Regions from separate parts of the Homo sapiens genome. Here region 1 is linked to region 2. The links are contacts of gene promoters, found by promoter capture Hi-C in human tissues and cell types (Jung and others, 2019). All regions are on one chromosome and are shown on one strand. Each heading gives the region's core, a stretch centred on a gene start or on the middle of the fragment in contact. The rest is flanking DNA. Distances are from core to core; before and after follow the strand shown.

What was found. Contacts are between HindIII fragments. The study calls those that stand out against the background at their distance.
Region 1: a fragment that was not itself captured here is called in contact with the fragment with the promoter of RALGPS1 in region 2 in 2 of the 25 tissues and cell types used here (dorsolateral prefrontal cortex and spleen).

Annotation. Positions count from the first base shown.
Region 1 is chr9:126,832,487-126,835,631 of GRCh38, reverse strand. It overlaps ZBTB43 (zinc finger and BTB domain containing 43), which reads right to left. Exons shown (of 3, transcript NM_014007.4): 3 at 1-3,145. The coding sequence starts at 3,122. The coding sequence ends at 1,719. Among named protein-coding and RNA genes, the nearest start is that of ZBTB34, 27 kb to the left of the region's middle. RefSeq lists enhancers at 1,925-2,424, 2,425-2,926. The HindIII fragment of the contact is 3,087 bases long and covers 1-3,047 here.
Region 2 is chr9:126,913,283-126,916,268 of GRCh38, reverse strand. It overlaps RALGPS1 (Ral GEF with PH domain and SH3 binding motif 1), which reads right to left and starts at 1,487. Exons shown (of 19, transcript NM_014636.3): 1 at 1,294-1,487. RefSeq lists an enhancer at 526-595 and a silencer at 1,086-1,515. The HindIII fragment of the contact is 6,028 bases long and covers 1-2,986 here.

The DNA of each region.
Region 1 (3,145 bases), core at 255-2,754, 81 kb after region 2:
CTTACAAGAGTTAACTGGTAAATAAGTATTTTCTTTCCTCTTTCCAGACAATGTTCAACAAGTAAACACCCTGGTGTTAGGAGCTTGAGAATCAGAGGCCATTGCCAGCAATGTCTATTACATTACAGCAAAGCCAAACTTTTCAAATAAAATTTCACCCCAAATCCAAGAAAAATTATTTTTATTTTAAGAAAAAAAAGTTTCTATTTAGAAGTAAATAACCCAGTACGATTGTGGAAAAGATGACATGGTAGTAGCACCCTGTCCTACCCTGGTGATAACCTCAGGTATGTTACACAGCTTAAAAGCATGTGCAATATTACCTTTCTTTTTAACCTAAATCATCTAACTGATGGGCAGAAAAGGTCTCAGAATAGTTGCTTTTCTTGTTTGTTTTTTTAATTTTTTTTTTCTGGTCGGCGTAGCTTTGTGGACTTTTAAGTTTAAGCAGCTTTATCTATAATGTGGGAGCATGGTTCTGTAGACTACCTTGCTAAACTTAGGACTCCTTTTACAAACACATTCCAGTGCTCATAAAGAACTGGTAGTATTAGCTCAGTGTACCCTCTAAAGAGTATCTCCCCCACCTTGAAAGAGTGTATTCTCAAGATTCTTCTTGGGCAGTTTTGTCCCCCTTAAGTATAACCACTCATAGAATCCTGCCTATCTGCCCTCTCACTCTGGTTGGTGGAGTGTCACCTTAGCACTCTATGAACTACTCAAGTTCACAGGGAACTCTCAGCCACAACTTGTGGCTCCTTCTCACTAAGTGTGGTCATGGACCACTCTCTTTGTAAAGCACCATAATCTAAGACAGAGCAGGGGCTGTGGCAGCCCGTGGTACCGTGGTCAGTCACAGCAGCTTGGTGTCTACCAGCCACAGAGAAGACCCCACTGTATGGAGGCTACAATTAACCAAACAGGATTTGGGAAAGCAAACCAATGAGAAATACCTATCTCTGGCACCCTAGAGAATTACAATTAGATAAAATTGTCCAAACTCAATGTTAGAACTAAAATACAAAACACTGCCTTATCAAGAGTCTGAAACACCTTGTGACAGTAGTGGCATCTTACAGAAACTGACAAGGGCACTATGTCAGCCTTGTACCGTAAATTATCTGTTTCATATTTAGAAAGTCACTCTCTTAGCATCTCCATAGTTTTAGTTAAAATATCCTTTAGAAAGACTAAAACCAGACAACAGAGCTCTGTTAACCAATTTCTCATCCTAGGAATCACATTATTTCTAGCTTTTATATAAGTAGCACTTCCTTCAGTGAAATAGCTACCAAAACAAATCCACATTACCTAAGTATCTATAGCAAGAGCAAAATAAAATTTCAGCATGACCTTGTAATAATGAGTGATCCAAAGCTGCTGCCACCCAAAATGGAACTGGTGGGTGGAGTCCAGTTCCAAGTGCAGGTGTCTCTGTCCACCTGTTTCGATCACAACCAGTCAGAAGGTTTCCCTTGCCAGCTGGGCGGTGGGTTAACTCACCCCATTACCCATTCCAGGCCAGGACTGGAACACACAAATTTGAGGAATTAGATTTTTTTAATTGGCCTACTTAGAGCTGGTCTTTCAGAAATATCTTCCTTTTTTTTTTTAAGCTTCTCTCATAATAGCAAGTAGCACGCATCATCTGTGCCCAGATTTGCATTAATTACCATAGTTTATTTTTGTGCATGCCACTCAAGGGCCAGATCCTATTTTTAGTTAGCCTCAGTTGTATTCTGCTCAGCCTTTGCAGCTTCGTAGGACTTAGTACAAGAAGTCACATGCCGGTGGAAACTGTCCCTCCACATAAACCTCTTTGCACAGATATTACACTCATACGGCTTTATGCCTGTGTGAATTTTCATGTGGCCCACGAGATGGTGCTTCATTTTGAATTTCTTACCGCAGACCCCACAGCCGTAAGGCCGAAGACCGAGGTGCATGCTCATGTGCCGATCTCTCTGACTCTTGTGAGTGAAACTTTTCCCACACTGACAAGGATACAGCTTGTCAGTGGCTGAGAATCCTAAGTGGGAAGCTTCTTCTTTAATCCCTGTTACCATTTCAATATTCTCACTGTAACCTGCTGCGAGGGCAGCCTCCTGTCTGTGCCCAATTAGATTCCCATCTGACCTCTCTCCGGAAAACTCTTCCATGGAAGAGCCATAGAAATCCACCTGCTCATCATAATTGCTTTCATCAGCCTGTTCATCAAACTCAGCTTCCACTTTCTTCTCCCCGATGTGGAAGTCCTCCTCCACTCCCGAAGGCTGCACCGTGTGCTCTGTCTGCACGGTGTTGATGGACTCTGTGACCTGGTGCTCGTCGTAGGTCGCGTGCACATCCATGCCCTCGCAAGCCTGTTCTAAGCGCTCGGGCTTCACGTGGATCCAGCGTTTGTGAGCCATGATGCTGGGCTTGCTGTACATGGGCCGGGTGTAGTGGAACTCGGCGCTGTCGCTGGCGCCCTCCTCCCCATCCTGGCTTGCCATTTCCGTGCTCAGGCGGTCATGCTCTGTGGACGAGTTGCTGGGCAGGTATTCGTGCTCGGTGAGCTGGGATGACAGCTCGTCTTTGGTGCTCTCCTCTTCATTTTCACCATCTCTCAGTTCTTGGGCTTTGGGAAAATCAGTATGACCCCCAGAGCCCAGCTCAAAGCTCTCTACCAGGCCATTATAACTACTGCTGCTTGGTGACTGGTGGTCACTGCCATGATTTAGCTTCTGACAAAGGACTGTAGGGTTTCCCTCTAAAACTTCAGTGCATTTGTCTACCACATGCCACATCTGGAGGAAGCTTGCCGCTGTCAAGTAACTAACAATTTCTGGAGCGGGCATTACTAGACGTCCTGTATAACTAGATAGGAGAATGTTCTCAAACACTCTTGGGTTCATCACATCAGGCAAAACAATTCTCCTGCTGTTTTTCAGGAGTACCTGGTCACAAAAGTAGGGTGAACTGGCAGCAAGAACGGCTTTGTGTGCCCGGAAAATGTGGCCTTGGACAACAATGGAGACGTCACATAATTGTCCTTGCTGGCGCTGCTGGTTCAGTTTCTGTAGAATGGTGCTGGAAAAATCAGGAAATTCTACCCGAAAAGAGTTTGTTCCAGGCTCCATTTCATCACAAATCTTGTTCGGTG
Region 2 (2,986 bases), core at 238-2,737:
TTTTGGGAACTCCCAACAAAACCTCATCCCAAACTGCGAAAAGACAGTGGTCTAGTCTCACCTCTTAACTAGAAACAAACCCTCTCTTCTTTAGACTCTCCAGTCCCTGAATCCAACCTGCCCATCGGCACAAGAAAAAGGAAACTCATAACTTTATCCAGCGATTTGCTCAGTAGGCACTGTTTCATCCTATCCTCACCAGGCCCCTGGGAGGCACACAGGCAGGTACTAACATGCTCATTTTGCAACGGAGGAAACAGGTGAAAAACTCTCCCAGGTAGCATAGTCAAAAGCTTCTGAATTCTCATCCCTGCTCTCCCCACTTAACAGGCTGCCATTTCAGTCTTTTTGAGACGCACTGCTGAGATCTACAGCAGCTTCTGGTACCAGTGGCCAGCAAGCCAGGACCCCTCCCAAGCCTCATACTACTCTTCAAGCACACACATTTTTCAACAACCGATCATCCAATGACAACCAACCCCCCGCCCCCCGCATCCTGGCAAGCCCCTTCAATAGCAACAGGAAAGCCCCTGAGGTGCGAAAAACAGCGCGCCCCACTTAGGGCGCGGCGTAGCATAGGGGAGGCAACCGGCCAGTAACCAGGGCAGCTGAGCTCCAAGCCCGAGTCAGCAGAGGCACAGGCAGGCCCGGACGGCCCTTCTAGCGGCAGCCCCGGATGCCCCCAGAATCCTCAGGGAGCCCAAAGCCCCCGCTCCCACCCAAGCACCCCTGGGCAGCGGAGAGGGCGGCCTTTCCTTCTCGGGCGACCACTCACCCTCGCCTGCTCCTCACCTGGGGCCCTGCTTCCGTACCGCAGCCACCCGGGCCCCGCCCCCCACCGCTGCAGGTCCCCGGGCCCCGCCCCCCGCACCTGTGCTTTCCTTGGGTCCAGCGCGGGCCGCACCCCACAGCCCCGCCCACGGCAGCCCCGCCGGCCCCGCCCCCCGCACCTGCAGCCGCGGCGCCCCGCCCAACTGCCCCCCCGGCCCCGCCCCCCGCGCCCGCGCCTCTTCCCCGCCGTCCTTCACGCTCCCGGGGACCAGCGCGCCCCTGGCCCCGGACCCCAGAACCCCCGGACCCCGGCCAGGCCCCGGCGCCGGGCACCCGCAGGCACGGCCCCGGCCCCGCCTCCCGCACCGAGGCCCCTCCCCGGCTTCGGCGGCCCTCGGGGTCCCGCCCCCCACACCTGCAGCTCCCTCAGGCCCGGCCTCAGGGCCCGCCCCGCCCCGCCCCGCCCCGTCGGCCGCGCCTCTCACCGCCGCTCTCCCCGCCGCCGCAGTCCCGGCCGGTCACCTTGACGCGGGCCGCAGTGGCTGCCGCCGCTTCCTCATGGCCCTGGGAGCGGCCCAGCGGCAGCGGCGCCTTCGCTTGGAGGCCGGGGCCACGCCGAGCCGGGCCGGGGCCGGGCCAGGCGCAGCTGGAGCGCGGGCAGACGCGGGAGCGGAGCCGGTGCCCAGCCGCAGTAGGAACCGTCCGCTCCAGGGCCTGAGCGGCGGGCCTCTCATCCAATCGGCGCGCGGCACCAGAACAGCCCCCCAACCAGCTCGTTGTAGGGGCGGAGACACGCAAATCGGCCGGCTGGTCGTACCAGTGCGCAGCCGCTGCATCCGCGGTCCTCCCGGGCCTCGGCCTCCGAGCTCATCTGCAGACGCCCTCCCCGCCCGCAGGGATGCTGCGCTGCCAGCACACCCGGCCCGCCGCCCGCCACGCCCATCCCCTGCCTAGAAATAGCCGCGCATCTTATTCCCCACACGGCCGTCCAGGCCTCACCCGATATCCCCCGTAAATCCCTACCTGGGATTTATCGTTTTCAACAAAAATGGTTTTGTGAGCGAGACATCGCCTTAGTGCCCATTCTTCACAGCTGGGAGGTAGGCACAGAGCCCAGAACGTCAGAGCCAGAAGAAACCTCGGAGTTCCTGGCGGGGCGGGGGGGGGGGCGGTCTCATCCATTTTACAGCTGGGCAGAGTTAGGCCCAACGAGGTGAAGGGACTTGCCCAAGACCACACAGGAGCAAAGCTGGGGAATGAGCCCGGATCCTGTCTCTCTGCTCCCACATCTTTACTCTGTGCCAGGCACGGTGAGGTGGGCACAGAGGTTAAGTCATTTAGCTAGAGTCGCAGGGATAATAAATTGCAAAGACAATTGAAGCCAGGTCTGTGAATCCCTGGAAATCTGGAACCACAGCAAAACTCCGTTCTGCCTCCCACAGACAGGAGGTACTATGACCTGCCCTACTCCGAAAGATTCTTGGACAAATAGAACATCATTCTGACAATCTTCAAAGTAATTTTGCAGTAATATGAATGAATATGGAATGATTGGTTATTATGCTTCCCAAAGCTTATGAAAGGAAAAAAGAAACAAACAAAAAAGAATATAAATAGAGTCAGTAGAAGTTAAACCACCTGTGTCTTAAAAGACCTCTGGGAGAAGTTTCTGCTATTTTGTATTAAGAAAACGGTAATCATCGAAGAAGGTGCTTAATTATTTTGCATAAAGAGAACAAGAGCCTGGCGAGTTGGCTCATGCCTGTAATCCCAGCACTTTGGGAAGCCAAAGCGGGAGGATTGCTTGAGTTCAGAAGTGTGAGACCAGCCTGGGCAACATGGCCAGACCCTGTCTCTAATAACAATACAAAAATTAGCGAGGCGTGGTGGCGCAGACTGTAGTCCCAGCTACTCAGGAGAGTGAGATGGGAGTATCACTTGAGCCCGGGAGGTCAAGGCTGCAGTGAGCCTCAAGTGATGGCGCCACTGCACTCCAGCCTGGATGACAGAGCGATACCCTGTCTCAAAAAAGAGAGAGAGACCATCCTGGCTAACATGGTGAAAACCTGTCTCTACTAAAAATACAAAAAATTAGCCGGGCGTGGTGCGGACGCCTGTAGTCCCAGCTACTCGGGAGGCTGAGGCAGGAGAACGGCGTGAACTTGGGAGGCGGTGCTTGCAGTGAGCTGAGATCGCACCACTGCACTCCAGCCTG